Linked DNA regions of Homo sapiens: regions 2, 3, 4, 5, 6 and 7 are each linked to region 1. Evidence: promoter capture Hi-C in 16 types of primary human blood cells and fetal thymus (Javierre and others, 2016). All regions are on one chromosome and are shown on one strand. Each heading gives the region's core, a stretch centred on a gene start or on the middle of the fragment in contact. The rest is flanking DNA. Distances are from core to core; before and after follow the strand shown.

Region 1 (2,737 bases), core at 122-2,621:
CAAGTTTCAAGAAGATAGTCTAAATATGGAACTTCAAGTCTCAGCAAAAACTCAAATCTATACAATATTTTATCTTCTCCCGGTCAAGGAGACAAAAAAAGCAAAAGTATCTTACAGTAATAAAAAATGGGTAAAATGCAATTAAGGCGAGGAAATGAAAAATGCCACAAGAGGTACAACTAGCATAACTGTCACTAAAAGGTTTGAATTAAGTAGGTTTACCACTGCACCATATTCACAGGCTATATATACATACACACACACATATATACACATATATATGTATATATAGCATGCATTAGCTCTCCAGAGTGTACTAAAAAAGTAAAGTCTACGCTCCCCAGAGTTGTTCCTTTCAGTGCAGGCTTTTTGTTCATATTCTAATGTCTTCCAAAGTTCCTGAACAGTCAACTTAAGATCATGTGTGTAGAAACTACTTTAAAACATTCTTGACAGGCTTTCTACAAGTAGCCCGTATTTTTCTGATTTGATTTAAATAGATCCAATTACGGAATTCCCTACCGACCTGCCGCCGCCGCCTCCTCCTTACTCCGGAAGGGGCCACTAATCCCAAGGGTTACAACCAAGTACAAACATTCATTGTCATTTCTTTTAAGAAGGCATGCTAAGATCCTCACTACTTAGTTGCCAGAAGACAACTTAAAATCAGAAACAGGGATCTAGCACAAACCAAATAGAAATACAACTATTCCAAAAAAGCAGGGCTTTGCCTGTCAAGCTGTAGCCTCATCCTTATAATAAGCACCGATTTCAAGCCACGATAACATCACGGCTAAGTCTTCAGCTGTTTTGCAGATTTCACGTTAACTTCCCTTGACCCTTTCAACCAACTACTTCAACTCGGCCCACTTCTTTCCACTCCCGCCCCAAACCTCAGTTAAAATGCATTTCCCTCCAAACTTCACGTCTTAACTGTGGCCTGACTTACGTCTTCTCGTCGCCACCGCTCCCAGTCAGGGCCTTAGTTCTAACCATGGCCGCTTTTCCCGGTTGGCCTCCAGCCTCCAGCCCCCTCCCATAAGTCTCGAACCTGCCTCGAACAGCCGCCCCGAGGTCGATTCTCCCAGTTCCTCCAACCTGTGCCCAGGCGCCCGTCCAGGCCCCCAAAGCACGCAACGGCCGAGCCCGAAAATGGCGGAGAGTGCCGCTGCCTGCTGCAGGCGAGCAGTCCCGTGTCGCCGCCGCACTCACCGTCTGGCTTTGAGCAGAGCTCCTAAATGGCCAGCGAAGCGTTCGCCTTCAGAGCCAGAAATGTCTCTCTTGTTTGGTCTCCCCACCCCGATCCTCTCAATCCCGCTCCTCCAAAGGAGCAGCCGCCATCTTCCCCTATGGGCCACCGAACGCACGCTCTGGGGTCATCACGCACTGGCGGGACGGCGCTACGTCACGCGCGCCTGGACCGCGGGCCTCTGTGAGGTTCGATCTGCGCATGTGCCTAGGTGAGGTGCCGAGCCGCGAGACCCTGCAGAGCGCTTCCTTTGTTCCGGAGCGAGTAGGACGCGCTACCTCCTGGAGGAAAGAAGCGACTGCGTTTCGCAGTGCTGACTTTTTTTTACAGTGTGAGCTAACGTGTATGCTCTGAAAAACACCCCGTTTTCCAGTATGTGAATGAGTATATTTGTACGGGGCCAGTACGGCAGACATAGCGGGTCGTTGGACCGAGCCCACCGAGAGTGGATCTGTGGGAAGCCACTGTGGCACCTTGCTGAGTCTGTTCACCCGTGCAGCTAGCTGGTGGCAGCCCTGGCAGATCCCGGCACACAGTCAGGCTCCACGCCTTACCCGAGCCAGTTGTGCCTCTAGATTACGCCTCGCTTAAAGTCCAGCGACCAAGATAGAAAAACAGCCCCACGATGCAACCATTTTGGAAAACCGCTGCAGTTTCTGCCAAAGCTAAATGTACGCTTACCTTGTGACCCCAGAAATTTCACTTCAAGAGGAATGAGTGCATACGTCCACCAAAGGCATGTGCAAGAATGTCCATAGCACGTTTATTCGTAGTAGTAAAAAACTGGTAACCTAAATGTCCATCAGCAGTTGAGTGGCTAAATTGTGGTGTATCATACAGTGGATTTCTACAGAGAAATAGGAAGTTACGGATAAACGCAACAGCCTGAACGAATAGCAGCTACTGTTAACTTAGGCACAAAGAAGAGGACGCTGTATGATTCCATTTTGATGAGGTTCAAAATATAACTGCACAGCAAGTTGTTCTCCAGTATGAATCAGGAATCGTACCAGCCTGGGGAACATGGCGAGATCCCATCTTTGCGCGTCGGGGTGCGTTCCTGTGACCGCCTTCCTGTGATCGTTCCTGTGATGGGTACTTGGGAGACTGGGGTGGGAGGATCACTTGAGCCCAGGAGTTGGAGGGCGCAGTGAGCCAAGATCGTGCCAGTGCACTTAAGTCTTGGAAGCAGAGTAAGACCCTGTCTCAAAGAAGTCTTACTTTTGACTCCATAATCCCCTTCCAAAAATCTATTCTAAGGATAGCCTCAGAGATGTGAGTAAGATTTGTGTACTAATCTTTGAGGTATTAATGATAGCAAAAAAAAAAGGAAACAGTAGCAGACAGTGATTAAATAATGGCACATCCATACGTAGACTATCATGCAGACATTACACAGTATCTAAAGTTTTTATGATAACATCAGAAATGTTTATAAACTTCTATATTTTTTCTTTTTTTAGAGACAAGGTCTCTCACCCAGGGTGA
Region 2 (2,737 bases), core at 137-2,636, 460 kb before region 1:
TGAATAGAAAAAATGAAACAATGAAGTTAGGCCCAATAGCTATAATCTCAGCTACTCAGGAGACTGAGGCAGGAGGATCACTTCAGCCCAGGGGTTTGTATCCCACCAGGGCGACATGGCAAGATCCCATCTCCTGAAACAAAAACAAAAACAAAAAAAAAAAAAAAAAGAAAGAAGAAAACCATGAGTCCATAAAAACAAAGATAAACAAATAAATCAACAATGGGAGGAAGAGAAAGCTTTTTCTTACAGTAGAATGTCAACTAATGAATGTAATAAAATTAGAAAGACCACCATTCAGCAATCATCAATAGAAATAATTAAGTAATAATTCAACCAAGAAAAATCAACAAATGCTAAAGCTAGTGGATGAAAAGTGTGATGAGGAATGAGTTACTTAGTTTCAACACACCATCTCCAAAAAATAATCATTTCCACTCATTTTTCAAAGGAAAAAAAAGTACCCTTTCTAGTGTAGAAAGCCAGCAGACAAAAAAAAAAGCTTAAGTCAAGTGATCCATGTTAATTAAGATCATCAGTAACAGGCAAATTAAAATCATGTACCTAACTAGCCTGACTTCAATTTTTAAAAATTAAAAAAAAGTGCCAACTGGTAAGGTAACACTGAGAAGAATACCACATCACCTCTGTGATACTGCTACCAAAAATTGATAACCTGAATTGATTCATAGGGAAGCATTAGACAAATCTCAATTGAGAAATAGTCTAAGAATTAACTGCTCTGTAAACCTCAAAACTGTCGAAATCATGAAAGTCAAGGAAACGTTATGGCTGTTCTAGATTGAAATACATCAAAAAGACACAACAACTAAATGCAAATTATAATCCTGATTGAATTATTTTCCTAAAATGAGCATTATTGGGACTACTGGCAAAACTTGAATGGGTTCTGTGGATTAGATGATATAATCCACAGGTTCTATCAATGCTAACCTCCTCATTTTGACAGTTGGATTCTGGATATGTAGAAAAATATCCTTATTGATAGCAATTACAAACTAAAATATTGTGGGGTGATGGGACCTCATGTTAGCAAGTTACTCTCAAATAATCAAAACAAATTTCTTTATACTGGTTTTGCAACTTCTGGAACTTATTTCAGAAGAAAAAAATTGTAAAAACAAAAACAAAGTGAAAAAAATCTATTCTTCTCCAGTCTTATCAAGAAGCATCTCTATTTTTCCAGTTGCTCAAAACAAAAATTTTGAGATAGGCTTGACCCCTCTCATGCTCTCACCTTATATTCCAATCCATTAGCAAATCCCATTAGCTTTCCCTTAAAAATATATTTCACTACTCCAAGCCATAATCCTCTCTTGCATGGATTACTGAAATAGTTTCATATCTGATCAACTTGATTTTACTCCAAACTCTAATATAACTCATTTCCTATACAACAATAAGGATCACCCTTTTAAAAAGTAAGTCAGAGAATGTTAATGCTCTCTCTCTGTCAGAAAGTACTGGTAGTTTCTCTACTTTGAATAAATTCCAAAGTCCTTGCCATGGCTTACTTCATATAATCTAGACTTCCCTACTTCTTGTTTTTTTGTGTTTTTTTTTTCTTTTTTGAGACAGGGTCTTGCTTTGTCACCCAGGCTAGAGCGCAGTGGCACAATCATGGCTCGCTGCAGCCTTGACCTCTTGGGCTCAAGTGATACTCCCACCTCAGCCACCCAAGTAGCTGGTACTACAGGTACGCACCACCATGCCCAGCTAATTTTTGTATTTTCGGTAGAGACACGGTTTTGCTATGTTGCCCAGTCTGGTCTTGAACTTCTGGGCACAAGCAATCCACCTGCCTTGGCCTCCTAAAGTGCTGCGATTACAGCCGTGAGCCACCATGCCTGGCCAACTTCCCTACTTTTGGTGTTATATTCTACTACAGTAAAGGTTAGATACAGAACACTGCTACTTCCGCCAAGACTAACACAATGGATGATCCCATCCCCACCACTGCAAAAAAAGAAAAGAAAAGAGAAGGTTGTTTAAATACCGGTAGGCTAAAAACATAAATATCCATTACAGCTTCCATGGCAATGCACTCTCACGAGTCTCCATTCTTCACCCCACTTCCCACATCTCACCTGAGTCTGCTTCAGAATCTCTTCTTCCTTGTTTGGCTATTAAATGCCAGTGTCATTTGAAGTTTCATTCTTGCACTACTACTCTTTTCATTCTATTGAGTCTCTTGAAGAAACATCACCTATAAACTAACCCTCAAATCTGTATCTCCAATCTAGACAGAGCTAAGCTTCAAATTCCAAATTATATAAAACTAGTTGTTAGATATTTTAATCCTTGGCCACATGCTTAGGATGGCAAAGCAGTAAGTTAAAAAAGAGTGCATGCTTCCCTCTCCCTCTCCCTCCTCCTCCCCCTCCCTCCCTCTCCCTCTCTTTCCACGGTCTCCCTCTGATGCCGAGCCGAAGCTGGACTGTACTGCTGCCATCTCGGCTCACTGCAACCTCCCTGCCTGATTCTCCTGCCTCAGCCTGCCGAGTGCCTGCGATTGCAGGTGCGCGCCGCCATGCCTGACTGGTTTTCGTATTTTTTTGGTGGAGACGCGGTTTCGCTGTGTTGGCTGGGCTGGTCTCCAGCTCCTAACCTCAAGTGATCCGCCAGCCTCGGCCTCCCAAGGTGCCGGGATTGCAGATGGAGTCTCGTTCACTCAGTGCTCAATGGTGCCCAGGCTGGAGTGCAGTGGCGTGATCTC
Region 3 (2,737 bases), core at 127-2,626, 440 kb before region 1:
TAAGGCTCAATGCTTACTATTCTGGAGTTCATTACTAAGCTGTCCCACAGTCAAGGGTTTTTTTTTTTTTTTTTTTTTTTGAGACAGAGTCTCGCTTTGTCACCAGGCTGGAGTGCAGTGGCACAATCTCAGCTCACTGCAACCTCCACCTCCCGGATTCAAGCCAATCTCCCGCCTCAGCCTCCCGAGTAGCTGGGATTACAGGCATGCACCACCACACTCGGCTAATTTTTGTATTTTTATTAATATACATTACATGATCTCAGAACACATAACTAACCTACCCTTTCTCAAATCACAGGGCAAGATTATATATGAAGAGACATAACAGCTTGGGGGTGAAGTCAAAAGAATGCAGCCATGTACTGATCACAGACTGGTTGGATTAATGTCACATCATCTCTAAAAGTAGATTTTTATCAATCTAAGGCTGAGCAACCCTCTACTTATCTTGTTTCCTTATAGTATCTGAGCAACTAAGAAGTTTTGTAAATACTGTCTGACATATGTATATTATACAATAAGATATTATTAACTTTAAAAAGGAGTTAACAGGTTACTTTAAAATGCCTAATCAGAATATACATTAAAGCCATCATATGAAACATAATGTTGATCTATCTCTCCTTAAACTGAATCAGGAGACATTAGGTCTCATTTCCCTATCACATTAGAATAAAATACTTTGGATTAAAACTCCAGGCAGGGCACTGTGGCTCACAACCATAATCCCAGCACTTTGGGAGGCTGAGGCAGGCATATTACCTGAGGTCAGGAGTTTGAGACCAGCGTGGCCAACATGGTGAAACCCTATCTCCACTAAAAATGCAAAAATTAGCCAGGCGTGGTGGCACATGCCTGTAATCCCAGCTACTCGGGAGGCTGAGGCACGAGAATGGCTTGAATGCAGGAGGCGGACGTTGTGGTGAGCCAAGATCGCACCACTGCACTCCAGCCTGGGTGACAGAGTGAGACTCCGTCTCAAAACAAAACCTCCATAATACCATTAAAATGTAACAAAGCCAGTCAAACTTTACAGTAATTAGAAACTCTCAAATAATGATAATGAAACACATCTAAACACGTCTAAGTCACAAATCTAAAATAAAATATGACTTAGGAGCATCCAACTACAGTCATCCCTCAGTATCCACAAGGGACTTGTCTCAGGACCCCATAGATAACAAAATCTGCAAATGCTCAAGTCCCTCATATAAAATGGCAAGTATCGGCTGGGCATGGTGGCTCACGCCTGTAATCCCAGCACTCTGGGAGGCCGAGGCGGGTGGATCACTTGAGGTCAGCAGTTTGAGACCAGCCTGGCCAACATGGTGAAGCCCTGTCTCTACTACAAATAGGAAAATTAACCTGGTGTGGTGGTGTGCCCCTGTAGTCCCAGGTACTTGGGAGGCTGAGGCACAAGAATCACTTGAACCCAGAAGGCAGAGGCTGCAGTGAGCCGAGATCACACCACTGCACTCCAGCCTGGGTGACAGAACAAGACACTGTCTCAAAAAAATAAAAATAAGGCGGTCGGGCATGGTGGCTCACACCTGTAATCCCAGCACTTTGGGAGGCTGAGGCGGGCAGATCACGAGGTCTGGAGTTCGAAACCATCCTGGCCAACATGGTGAAACCCCATCTCTACTAAAAATACAAAAAATTAGCCGGGTGTGGTGGCATGCGCCTGTAGTCCCAGCTACTCAGGAGGCTGAGGCAGGAGAATGGCTTGAACCAGGGAGGTGGAGGTTGCAGTGAGCCCAGATCGTGCCACTGCACTCCAGCCTGGAGACAGAGTGAGACTCCATCTCAAAAATAAATAAATAAATAAATAAAAATAAAAAGGCAAAGTATTTACATATAAACTATGCATATCCTCCCATATACTTTAAATCATCTCTAGATTATTTTTAATACCTAATATAACTGCCATGTAAATAGTTGTTATAAGTTATTTTTTAAATTTGTATTTTTTTTTTCTTTTTGAGATGAGGTCTTGTGATGTTGCCCAGGTTGGCCTCGACCTCTTGGGCTTAAACAAACCTCCCGCCTCAGCCTCCAAAGTAGCTGGCACTACAGGCATTTGCCACTGCACCCAGCTTGTTGAATTGTGACTAGTATTATTATTCTCAAATATTTTATTTTTTATTTTTGTGTGGACAGAGTCTCACTCTGTTGCCCAGGTTGGAGTGCAGTGGCGGGATCTCGGCTCACTGCAACCTCCGACTCCCTGGTTCATGCGATTCCCCTGCCTCAGCCTCCGGAGTAGCTGGGATTACAGGCACGCATCACCACGCCCAGCTATTTTTTTTTTGCATTTTTAGTAAAGACAGGGTTTCACCATATTGGCCAGGCTGGTCTTGAACTCCAGACCTTGTGATCTGCCCGCCTCGGCCTCCCAAAGTACTGGGATTACAGGCATGAGCCACCGTGCTCGGCCATTCTCAAATATTTTCTATCTGTGGTTGGTTGAATCCACAGATGCAGCAGCACCTGCAGATACAGAGGACTGACTGTATTATTACAAAACAGCAAATAATAGGCTGGGCGCGGTGGCTCACGCCTGTAATCCCAGCACTTTGGGAGGCCGAGGCGGGCGGATCACGAGGTCAGGAGATCGAGACCCTCCTGGCTAACACGGTGAAACCCCGTCTCTACTAAAAAAAAAAAAAAAAAAAAAAAAAAACAGCAAATAAACAAGTAAAAAATGACTTCATCTTAGATTGGAGATCTCTTT
Region 4 (2,737 bases), core at 149-2,648, 400 kb before region 1:
AGGGTTTTAGATTTGTAGGGATTCGTTTCCAGCTGTCCAAAGATGTCCATTCACTTTGCATCTGCAGGCTGGTTTTGGTAAACCAGCAGTTTGTCATCTTTTGCATCTATCATGTAGGATATCCATGGCTAAGATATCCATCCTTTTTGAACTTTTTTTTTTTTTTTGAGTTGGAGTCTTACTCTGTCGCCCTGGCTGGAGTACAGTGGCGTGATCTCGGCTCACTGCAACCTCAACTACCCAGGTTCAAGTGATCCTCCGGCCTCAGCCTCCCAAGTAGCTGGGAGTACAGGCGCGTGCCACCACGCCTGGCTAATTTTTGTATTTTTAGTAGAGACAGGGTTCGCCATGTTGGCCAGGTTGGTCTCGAACTCCTGACCTCAGCTGATCCACCCACCTCGGCCTCCCAAAGTGCTGGAATTATAGGCGTGAGCAATGGCACCCGGCCCTTTTTGAACATTTCTGAGCACACTGGATGTCACTGTAAGTTAAACCTCTCTCTGTCTCTCTCCTTCTCTGTCTGTGTTTCTCTCAGGAAAAATAGTTTTAAAGCACAAAGATACTTTGAACTTGTGAAGTTGAAGTTGAAGTTGAATTCCAAATAAGTTACAGTTTTAGTAAAGAAGTGAGAAAGTCTTGTTTAAATTGGCTGTCCTTTTCTGGTGACATTTTGGTTTCGTTTCCAAAAAATGAGTCATTTTTCATTATATGAGCTTTGTCAGTACCTACCTATAACATCGACAACTCAGGGACAGTCAGTTCATGCTTTTCCAGAGCCCTTATGGGCTCCTCAAAGATCATCAGGCAGTTTTGGAGGAAGAACTTATAAATTTCAGTTTGACTGTTTAACCATAATCTTTTTCTCTATTTTCATTCTTAATATATTTCCAAATTAGACAAGGACATTCTTCTTGTCCCATGCTTTGAAAATATGGTTGTATGGCAGGCTGCCTTTTTACCCTGGCAACAGTGACAGCCCTCGTGTAGGCACATGTCCAAAGGAGGCCATCTCCTTCCATTTCTGGAATGTGAAAAATCTCATTAAGTGCTTTTTCATGCTTTGAGGAAACTGAAAAGTAAATAAAAGCTTTCATTTTGAAAGCATCAATATCACAGGGAAGGAAACTCCACCCCTTTTTACTGATGTGTACAAAATGTGCAGGACACTTCGTGGCTAATATTTTTAACTTTTCTTTGGTAAAGCGTTCATAGACTGCATGGAATTTGCAAAAATTTACATTTGCACGGTCTGCCAAATAGGCAGACAGATGGGCAAAGTCATGTTTGTATTTGGACAAGATAGCATCAACATTCTTTTTTTTTTTCTGCAGGTGGATTAAAATCTTCATAGAAATAAAAAGGATGATTTGAAACTCCATTTTTTCAAATCAAAGTATTTACAAGTTAGGAGAACTGTTTTTCATTGCCATGATTGGATGCAGCACTTGGTTACTGTAGAAAGCATGATTGTTGGTGGGATCTGGCAGAATCCGCTGCATGTTGTAAAGGGTCAACACAGCTGCCATCGACATTTCTCCCTTTGTTCACCCACGTGATATTTCAGTTACAGCCTGTAAATGAGGAAATGTGCCCCTACTCAGTTTCAAAAAACAATCAAAGGAGCAGCACAATCACACAAATTCATTTTTGTAGTTTGCCCTAGCTAATTCAGCAGCCACTATTTTCAATTGGTGTCTTTTGTGGAGACAAAAAGCTTTTTGGTTAATGTGGACATACTTGCCTATCTCACTGAGGACTTGTGAGGCAGTCTCTACAGTCCCTTCTTCCACCATGCCCAACCCCGAATTCTCTCTGCTTATTGCGCAGTATCCCTTGTTTTGATTCTTTACCTCCCTCATCCAGTTGTCTGTGTCACTCCTCCTGTCGTTAAAATAACATGGCCATTTGGGTCACGCGGGCATTGATATTGCAACACCATTTCCTCATTTTCATCACCTGAATGCTTAAGAAAACATGGCCTCAGTAGTCACCATGCTAAAATTAAACTAGCAGTGTCTCAATACAAAGCACAACAATTAATCCGCAGGCAAAGTGGATGGTCACGTTCAAGATTATAGCGCGCTTAAGTTACATCACAAGGAGTGACATAATAATGGATGATCCACTATGGTGTACTACAAATCATGGTGGTTGTCCTCAGCAACAGACACTAAGGAAGGTGATGTGCCCATTTGGCACTAAAACCAGTGTTGCCTTCGGCCTCTGTTTCTGGGGTTGCCATGTGGGTTTTATACCTTTCCCCTAATCTCCTGTATCAATCACTGAAAACCTCGACTTTTCTCTTCCCAAGGGAGAGTTTACTTCCCTTTAACTTTTTGGCTTCTTCTTTAGGACTTTTAGTGTTAAAAATGGTACAATCCCAGACAAATGGGATAGTTGATCATCTTATCATGTTTATAGAATCAAGAAATAATGTCTCAATTTAAAAAGTCAATTGTATTTATAAACACTAGCAACAAACAATTGTAAGTTCAAATTTTTAAAATGCCACTTACAATAACATTTTTAAAACATGAAATAAGTAGGGATAAATTTAACAAAATATGTTCAAGACCTATACCTGAAAACAATTAAACATTGGAGAGAGAAATTAACAAAGAGCTGAATAAATGTAGAGAAATACCATGCTAATAGATGAGAAGACTCAACATTAAGATGTCTTTTATTCCTAAATTGTTCTATAGATTCAATTCAATCCAAATCAAGATTTCACCAG
Region 5 (2,737 bases), core at 115-2,614, 310 kb before region 1:
CTAAGTGTCAAAGAGACCCACAGCTAACAATTAATACAGTTAGGGGTTTTTATGTAAACGTATTTCTTTGAAACATTACCTCTTCCAGTTTTAAAAAAAAAAAACAGTATTTTATATTCCTATTGACATGTGGTTTATCACTTTGAGGCAGTCAGAGATTAATATGTGCTAATAGAACTCCAAGGAAACTTACTATTAAGCTTAGCTAATGATAACCAGGGGAAATGAGTGTCCTACTGATATTTTAGAATATTAAGCTGAATAACAGAACACAGATCTGACATACCAAGAGGATACAATGTTCCACAGTTACAAGCTTAGACAATGAATAAAGCCATTGATAAACAGCCCAAGGTAACTCCTTACATGCTTTCTCTTCATCTTCACTATCAGAAAGCACAGCAGCTTTTCTCTTCGCTACTTTCTCCTCCTCACCCTCTTTTTCATCTTCATCACTGTCCATTTTTTGCTTTTTGTGTTCTTCCTCCTCACTATCAGAACTGTGAAACTTTTTTCTGTCCATATGGCTGTCTGAATGGAAGGAGTCATTCTGCATTTCTGTATCCTCTCCCTTATTCTCCCTGTCGCTGTCATCATCTGACTCTGGCTTCTGTTTGTGTCTGGACGCATCCTCAGTTTCTGAGTCACTGGCAGGCCCCTTCTGAGGCCCCTCACTCTCAGAGTCACTGACTCGGGGTTTGGGTAGCTCCTCATTTTCCGAATCACTGGCCTGGTTCCTTGGGGGATCCTCACTTTCCGAATCACTGATTCGGGGTTTGGGAAGCTCTTCATTTTCTGAGTCACTGGCCTGGTGCCTCGGAGGGTCCTCACTTTCTGAGTCACTGATACGAGGTTTGGGAAGCTCCTCATTTTCAGAGTCACTGGCCTGGTGCCTTGGGGGTTCCTCACTTTCTGAATCACTGACCTGAGGTTTAGGAAGCTCCTCACTTTCAGAATCACTCATTCGAGGTTTGGGAGGCTCCTCATTTTCGGAGTCACTGGCTTGGTGCCTTGGGGGTTCCTCACTCTCAGAGTCACTGATTTGAGGTTTTAGAGCATCTTCTGTTTCAGAGTCACTAGCAGGACTCTTCTGGAGCTCCTCAATCTCAGAATCACTGGCGGGATGCTTCCCAACATCTTCGTTTTCTGAGTCACTTGCATGCCCATTAAGAAGTTCCTCATTTTCAGAGTCACTACCAGGTAATTTCCTGGTCTCTTCACTCTCAGAGTCGCTCCCATGCTGATTGACATCCTCATTTTCAGAATCGCTTGCAGGAGGCTCTGCACGTTCCTCAGATTCAGAGTCGCTGTCCTTTTGCCTGTGAAGCTCCTCACTTTCAGAGTCACTAGCATTAAGATTTAAGGGCTCATCGTTCTCAGAGTCTGTCACATGATGTCCTTTGGGGAGGCCATCTTCTCGATCACTAGTTTCATTCTGAAAAATAAAGTGAGAAAAAATTAGGAAAGTGCAAAAAAAAAAAAACCATTAATAATAAAACATTAAATTTTTTCTGTGATTTTTTTAAAATACAGGATTATGTGCACCTAAATGGAGAATTCTTGTCCTATACCCATATAGAAACACCCCCACAGAAAGCCAATCAGTGAAATGGTTTTATTTGGATCCCCAAATGGGGAAATATAACCAGCCTTCATCAAAACAGATTTGTAAAGCATGCCCTCAGATTACTACAGAAAACTGACCGTGAAGAGCTAGATTTTTTCTTTTTTAAAAGGCGAATTTTCTCATACATACTTCTGTTTTGTAAAAATATAACTCTAGGCTGGACAAGGTGGCTCACACCTTTTGGGAGGCCGAGGTGGTGGATCACCTGAGGTCAGGAGTTCGAGACCAGCCCGGCCAACATGGTGAAACCCTGTCTCTATTAAAAATACAAAAATTAGCTGGGCGTGGTGGTGGACACCTGTAATCCCAGCTACTAGGGAGGCTGAGGCAGGAGAATCACTTGAACCTGGGAGGCGGAGGTTGCAGTGAGCTGAGATTGCACCATCGCACTCCAGCCTGGGTGACAGAGTGAGACTGTCAAAAATAAAAATAAATAAATAAAAATAAATAACTCTATTTTTCAAAGAAATACAAGCAAACATGTAACCAAGTTCTTTTACACAGGAACATTCTTGGGTTTTATAAGGTTAAGATTATTTAAGGGAAAAGAACTATAAAATTTAATTTTATTTAAAGGGTCAAATAACATATGGGCACCTTCTCCCAAGATAATTTAAGCAAACAAAGAAAGGAGAAGTTAACATTTCCTAAGTACCCACTAAGAGCCAATACCACAACAGGCTCTCTCCTGTTAGTTCATTTACTCCTCATAATGGTACTTCTCATGATAACAAAATTGAGGCTTACAGTAGTCACGGTCCTGTGTCTAGTAACCCTAGAAACAAGAAAGCTTAAGTTTTAGGGAGAACATGATTCATCTAACTATACCAACACATAATGTTACTTGAAATAATTACTCTGAAAACATGCCCTGGGGTACAAACTTGATATGTGCATATTATAGCTATGGCTTTAAAATGCAGAGAAAAATATACAAAATTAAACATGCCAAAATACTAACAAGTATTTTAGGATCCGGTGAATTTTTTCTCCCATCTGGTAGCTCAACTTTAAATAACATGGCAATAATATTCTAGCTTAAAAAGTGAAAGTATTTCCGTGTTTGAGTATACCCTCTTAAAAATTTACTGAGCCAAATATTTCTTGTTA
Region 6 (2,737 bases), core at 141-2,640, 280 kb before region 1:
GGGGTAGGGGCGTAGGGGGGTGGGGTACGGGCATGGGGGGTGGGGGTGGTGTTGGTCTCACTATGTTGCCCAGGCTGGTCTCGAACTCCTGGGCTCAAGCCATCGGCCGCCTACGCCTCCCAAAGTGCTGGGATTACAGGCATAATCCACCGCACCTGGCTTAGGAAAGTGTTTTTAAGCAGTGCATGCCTGGAAAACGCTTTGCAGTCATTAGAATTCACTGTCCTACGTAAGGAAAAGCAATGAACTCAAAACAGTAAAGGGCTTAACGCTTAAACAATTATTTAAGCACTCAAGTTTTCTTTTTAATTTTCAATTTTTGTGGGTACATAGAGGGTGTATTTATTTATGGTGTATTTAAGAACTTTTGTAACAGAACGCCCCAACAGGACTAGCACACAAAGGGAAAGCAAATGCGACGTGTTTCCCACACCAGGTTCTGCCTCACTTATCCTTAATCTCAGGTGCCAAGCACCGTGCCAGCAGAGTGGGCCCCAGTAACAGCTTACAGAATAAACAAACAGTAAAGAAAGGAGACCAAACTTCGGTGAGGAGGAAGAGGAACGATCTCAAGGTGGAGGAAAGGCACAAAAACCACCAGTAAGTGCCAGAAGCGCATTCCTTACTCTATGCATGCAACTGAAACATGGGTCCTGCACTTACGTCCGGTGTTGCAAGCAAGATTAAACCACTCCTAACTAGCAGTGAAAAGTCTAGGAAGGATCCCCCGCCCCAACGCCCCTTGGATTCTCCAACTACTCAACTACTGAAAACTCTCTTAACAGAAGACACCTCTCCTTCCCTGCACACAATAGGAGCTTAACATATGAAAGTGACTTCCCAATTTCAGCAAAAACCTTCGCCGATTCAGAAGAAAGCTTTCCCACCAGAATCCCCTCTCCAACGTTCTAGCTTCGACGCTTGCAGCTGGTCAGAGGGCTCTTGCCCTCCTCGGGCCGGGTCGCGGGAGGGAAGGTTTCGGGGGGCCTCCTTGCCCCCACCCGCGGGGTGCCAGGCCAAGCCCCGCCGAGTAACTGCTCCGCCTCCCAGCCCGGTCCCCCAGGTCCCTGCCCCACCTGACTGGTCGCCGCTGTAATATTCCGAGTCCATGGCAGGCGGACTCTCAGCGGGGAGTGTCCGCGCCCCGCGCCGCCCCCGTCACCTCCTTCCAGGCGGTGTGACCCCGGATGGCGCGGCTAAGTGTTCAGAGACTGCCGCCCGACCGGAGAACTTAACGGGTGCGGAGGGTAAGAAAGCGGTAGCGGCAAAGGCGAATTCTTTGACCTGGAAGCCCCGGCGGAAAAGGCCGTACCCGGCAGGCTGGCGGGCGGGCAGGCATGCGAGCCGGCGTTCTACTTCCTAGAAGCACCGCTGGGGCCAAAATGGCGTCTGCCCACGACCCTCAAAGGAATGCAGCGCGCAGGCGCCGCAACCCGTCAACCGGCCAATGAGAAGACGCAACAGCAATGACGCCAGGCACGGCCGGAAAGGAGACTCCTGGGAAAATTGAGCTGGAACTCGGGCTTTAGTTAAATACCTTCCTCGGGTGGATCCTGGTCTGACCCCCGTGGTAATAACGTTATCATTGATTCTTTATCATTTCCTAGATTCTGTGTCCGTGCCTTGTTTGAAGAGCTTTTGAGATACTCTTCCGAAAAATGAAGACCTGCTCAAATGACTTTTCCGTCATTCAGCCAAACCACTGTCTTTCCCGTCAGGCCCAGAGGCGCCTGGTTCCCGCCCGCAGTAGGCAAGAAAGCGGGCGTTGCTCACTGGGACTTGTAGTATGACGCCCGCGAGCTGTGATGCGTTACTAACTGGCGCGATCCACAGCGCCTCCTCTCCCGGCGTCTTCCTCTCTTTCATTCTAAACAACGATTTAATTTCCTTGTTAAGAAGCCATTTAGCCAACAGTAAGAAGTACACGTCTTTGCTTCCAGAAGGGTTCCCCTGATGAAACACCGGAGGAAGGTGAAGTTGAACTTTACCTGAGCCCTGTGTTCCTGGAAAACAGCGGTGATTAAGAAACCCCCTCATCTATTTGTGTTTCTGGAACGGCACACTGTAAAGAACCACCCGTCTCCATGTGACTCAGATAAAACGCGTGCAGATGACCCCCTTGTTTGCCTGTGACAAGGCCAGAGACCTTTCCCCTTTATTCTGAGCCTGTTAATAAAGCCAAACAGACCTTCCAAATTCCCGCTGATGATATCGAGTGATTAGTTGAGATTAGAACTCTCCTCCCCCCAACTTGTTAGACACAGAGAACATTTCCTGTTCACCTGACTGAAACTTCTCCTGATTGCAAAACAATCCCAACTGTCAATCATCCCACCTTCCTCCCTATAAAAGTCAAAACTACGCTGCCAAGACACTGATCATATCTGGAGTGCTCTCCCTATTGCAATAGGCTGAGTAAAATCCATTTCCTTACTTGTTCATTTTAGTCTTGGACAGAGAGGGGAACATTCTTGCCTTTGGATCGGAGGAGGGCCAGTAGAGGTTTAAGCAAAGACTCCCCAGGAGGTGTAGACATGTAGAAAAAGAGCCTTTTGTTACTACTGCAGATATCTGACCCTTCGTTAGCCAGTCAGAGTATGCTGGCAGAGCCCAATTATAGGCTCCTGAAGAGGACGTGGGAAGAGAAGAAAGGGGAGAAGTGGTTTCTCTCTGGAAATTCCCATTTTCCTGCAAGAGAGTTCATGGATATTCCTTTCCGAAGTGGTGGAAACAGCAT
Region 7 (2,737 bases), core at 164-2,663, 280 kb after region 1:
ACAGGGAGAAAATGTTTCCAAATGGCATATCTGACAAATAACTTGTATCTAAAATATATAAAGTACCCTCAAAACTCAATGGTGGAAAACCAAATAATTAGAGAATAAGCTAGGGCATGACAAGGCATTCCACAAAAGGATACACAGATTGCAAATGACCATGTGAAAATATGCTCATCATCACCAGCCACTAGGGAAATGCAAATTGAAACCATGATGAGGAATTACTATGTGCCTATCAAAATAACAAAAATAAAAAAATAATGGCAGTACCAATTGTGGGTAAGAATGCAGAGAAAATGGATCTCTCATACACTGGTGGTGGGAATGTAAAATGGTACAGCCATTCTAGAAAATAGTTTGGCCTTTCCTTACAAGCAAAATGTACATTTACCATATGATCAAGTAATTGCACTCTTGGGCATTCATCCCAGATAAAAAAAAACTTAGGTCTAGGCCAGACATGGTGGCTCATGCCTGTAATCCCAACACTTTGGGAGGCTGAAGCAGGTGGATCACTTGAGGTCAGGGGTTTGAAAACAGCCTAGCCAACATGGCAAAACCCCATCTCTACTAAAAATAAAAAAATTACCCGGGTGTGGTGGCACACACTTGTAATTCCAGGTACTCAGGAGGCTGAGGCAGGAGAATTGCTTGAATCCAGAAGCAGAGGTTGCAGTGAGCCAGATCACACTACTGCACTCCAGCCTGGGTGACAGAGTGAGCGACACTCCTTCCCAACAAAAACAAACAAAAAACTTGTGTCTATGTAAAAAACCTTTACATAGGGCTGGGCGTGGTGGCTCATGACTGTAATCCCAGGACTTTGGGAGACCAAGTGGGGAGGATTGCTTGAGCCCAAGATTTTGAGACCAGCCTGGGTAACATGGTGAGACCTGATCTATTAAATAAATAAATAAATAAATAAATAATTTTTTTTTATTTGAGACAGAGTCTTGCTCCTCACCCAGGCTGGAGTGGAGTGGCGCAATCTCTACTCACTGCAACCTCTGCTTCCTGGGTGCAAGCAATTCTCCTGCCTCAGCCTCCCAAGTAGCTGGGATTACAGGCGCCCACCACCATGCCTGGCTGATTTTTGTAATTTTAAATAAATAAATAAATAAATATAAATACAAACCTGTACATGAATGTTAATAGGAGCTTTATTTGTAATAGTCCAGAACTGGAAAAAACCCAAATATCCTTCAATAGGTGATGCTAAAATGAATCTGTATGTTTGTACCATGGAATATTACTCAGTAATAAAAAGGAACAAACTACTGATATCTACAACTTGTATGGCTCCACAGGTGGTTATGCTGAGTGAATAAATAAATAAAAAAGCTACATACTATGTGATACTATTCATATAACATTCTAGAATTGAAAAATTTTATATTTAATGATCAAAATGATGGTTGCCACAGGCTAGGGGTTTTGGGGGTAGGAAAGTAGTTCTGACTTCATAAAGGGGTAGCACAAGGGAGATCTTTGTGGTGCTGCAATAGTTGTGGGTCTTCATTTTGGCAGTGGTTACACAAATGTACAGACATACACAAAATGATGGAAATATACCTGTCTCCCCCACACAATGTACCAAGTCAATTTCTGGTTTTCATACTTTAATATAGATATTTGAAATGTAATCATTGGGGGAATGGGCTTAAGGGTACAAAGTACCTCTGTGTACTATCTTTGCAACTTCTTGTGAATTTATAATTATTTCTAAATAAAAAGTTTAAAAAATTTTTTAAAATCTGTTTTTATTCAAATAAGGTAGCACTTTTCAGAGAAAGGTTTAGAAAAGGTGAAATCCAACTTTCCTAGAAGCTCTGTGCTACCACTTAGCTGTATTTTAAAACTAAGCAAACTTTGGTTTTGTTCATGGATCACATAGCAGAAGATCAAGATAAGGCCAAGAAAAAGTATATAATCAACTTTGTAATGAGGTGAATTAACAATTTCCTTTTTATTGAAGCATTAGCTGATGTGATTTAAAGAGGGCTAGAAAATACACTATGGAAAGCTAACACAACAGCTCCCTTGTGAAATAAATTTTAAAATGCTCATGTTTTTTTCTTTTCGTAGGTGTGTGTACACATTTAGTTTTATTGTAACAAAGCAACTTGTACACTTTTAACATTTAAAACTGAGCATGATCTTTCCTTTCCAGTGAAACAAAATTTAAAAATAAACAGGAACAAAATTACAATAGAGAATGTCAATTCCAAATAAGATCCTAGAGGTTCTGCTGATTCTCCCACTGAGTGGCAGGGCTCAAGTCATCATTAGGAGAGAATTTATTTTAAAAGCGTCATCTTAAACTGCAAGGATGTGTGTCAAACATCGCAATTAAACATGCCAAAGGAGAAGCCATGTTGTCAAAATGTCCGCTTAACCCACCCAAACATCTCAGACCCACCCTTTGCTGACTTCTAGAATCCCATTTTTTAAAGTTTTTTTCTTTTTTTAAACAAGAGAAAGTAGACAGAAAGATGTTGGTAAATGCTAACTGTCCATATTCACATAGAGACCCAGTGTACTCTCCGAGCCCAATATACAGAGAAAGCAGGAAGAAAGCTAGAATTGAATGCTCTGCTACACATGGGCCTAGAGCCCTCCAGCTTCCAGCAGGGCGAAGGGAGCAGGTTTTTCTTTTTTCCCACAGAGCTGGGGTGATGTTGATTCTATACAGTTTTTGCTCAGACAGGAAGGGATAAAAATGAATTTCGAACAG

What was found. Contacts are between HindIII fragments. The CHiCAGO score rates a contact against its expected background, and 5 or more counts as called.
Region 2: a fragment that was not itself captured here is called in contact with the fragment with the promoter of WDR33 in region 1 in 1 of 17 cell types (total B cells); the score reaches 5.9 in total B cells.
Region 3: a contact is called between a fragment that was not itself captured here and the fragment with the promoter of WDR33 in region 1, in 1 of 17 cell types (activated CD4 T cells). The highest score is 5.3, in activated CD4 T cells.
Region 4: a fragment that was not itself captured here is called in contact with the fragment with the promoter of WDR33 in region 1 in 1 of 17 cell types (fetal thymus); the score reaches 5.6 in fetal thymus.
Region 5: a contact is called between a fragment that was not itself captured here and the fragment with the promoter of WDR33 in region 1, in 3 of 17 cell types (naive B cells, activated CD4 T cells and total B cells). The highest score is 6.3, in naive B cells.
Region 6: the fragment with the promoter of IWS1 here is called in contact with the fragment with the promoter of WDR33 in region 1 in 8 of 17 cell types (fetal thymus, non-activated CD4 T cells, naive B cells and 5 more); the score reaches 10.4 in fetal thymus.
Region 7: a contact is called between a fragment that was not itself captured here and the fragment with the promoter of WDR33 in region 1, in 4 of 17 cell types (naive CD8 T cells, total CD8 T cells, total CD4 T cells and 1 more). The highest score is 6.4, in naive CD8 T cells.

Annotation. Positions count from the first base shown.
Region 1 is chr2:127,809,800-127,812,536 of GRCh38, forward strand. WDR33 (WD repeat domain 33) reads right to left here and starts at 1,372. Exons shown (of 22, transcript NM_018383.5): 1 at 1,213-1,372. LOC124907885 (a long non-coding RNA gene) reads left to right here and starts at 1,452. Exons shown (of 2, transcript XR_007087230.1): 1 at 1,452-2,344; 2 at 2,713-2,737. RefSeq lists enhancers at 1-354, 437-1,377, 784-863, 944-1,023, 1,044-1,333 and 1 more. The HindIII fragment of the contact is 7,008 bases long and covers 1-2,737 here.
Region 2 is chr2:127,350,303-127,353,039 of GRCh38, forward strand. The region is part of intron 1 of MAP3K2 (mitogen-activated protein kinase kinase kinase 2); the gene reads right to left. Among named protein-coding and RNA genes, the nearest start is that of MAP3K2-DT, 36 kb to the right of the region's middle. RefSeq lists an enhancer at 1,685-2,184. The HindIII fragment of the contact is 1,773 bases long and covers 501-2,273 here.
Region 3 is chr2:127,366,810-127,369,546 of GRCh38, forward strand. All of the region lies in intron 1 of MAP3K2 (mitogen-activated protein kinase kinase kinase 2), which reads right to left. The region is part of intron 1 of LOC124906074 (a long non-coding RNA gene); the gene reads left to right. Among named protein-coding and RNA genes, the nearest start is that of MAP3K2-DT, 19 kb to the right of the region's middle. The HindIII fragment of the contact is 3,235 bases long and covers 1-2,737 here.
Region 4 is chr2:127,410,242-127,412,978 of GRCh38, forward strand. LOC124908047 (translation initiation factor IF-2-like) reads right to left here and starts at 113. Exons shown (of 3, transcript XM_047446883.1): 1 at 55-113. The coding sequence starts at 113. RefSeq lists enhancers at 584-783, 924-973. The HindIII fragment of the contact is 627 bases long and covers 1,086-1,712 here.
Region 5 is chr2:127,504,318-127,507,054 of GRCh38, forward strand. It overlaps IWS1 (interacts with SUPT6H, CTD assembly factor 1), which reads right to left. Exons shown (of 14, transcript NM_017969.3): 3 at 367-1,435. Among named protein-coding and RNA genes, the nearest start is that of IWS1, 21 kb to the right of the region's middle. The HindIII fragment of the contact is 2,101 bases long and covers 315-2,415 here.
Region 6 is chr2:127,525,099-127,527,835 of GRCh38, forward strand. It overlaps IWS1 (interacts with SUPT6H, CTD assembly factor 1), which reads right to left and starts at 1,391. Exons shown (of 14, transcript NM_017969.3): 1 at 1,077-1,391. The coding sequence starts at 1,110. RefSeq lists enhancers at 601-1,300, 631-710, 721-780, 1,311-1,370, 1,631-1,680 and 1 more and silencers at 961-1,070, 1,712-1,885. The HindIII fragment of the contact is 4,097 bases long and covers 877-2,737 here.
Region 7 is chr2:128,087,017-128,089,753 of GRCh38, forward strand. No RefSeq gene overlaps it. Among named protein-coding and RNA genes, the nearest start is that of UGGT1, 2.8 kb to the right of the region's middle. The HindIII fragment of the contact is 4,939 bases long and covers 1-2,737 here.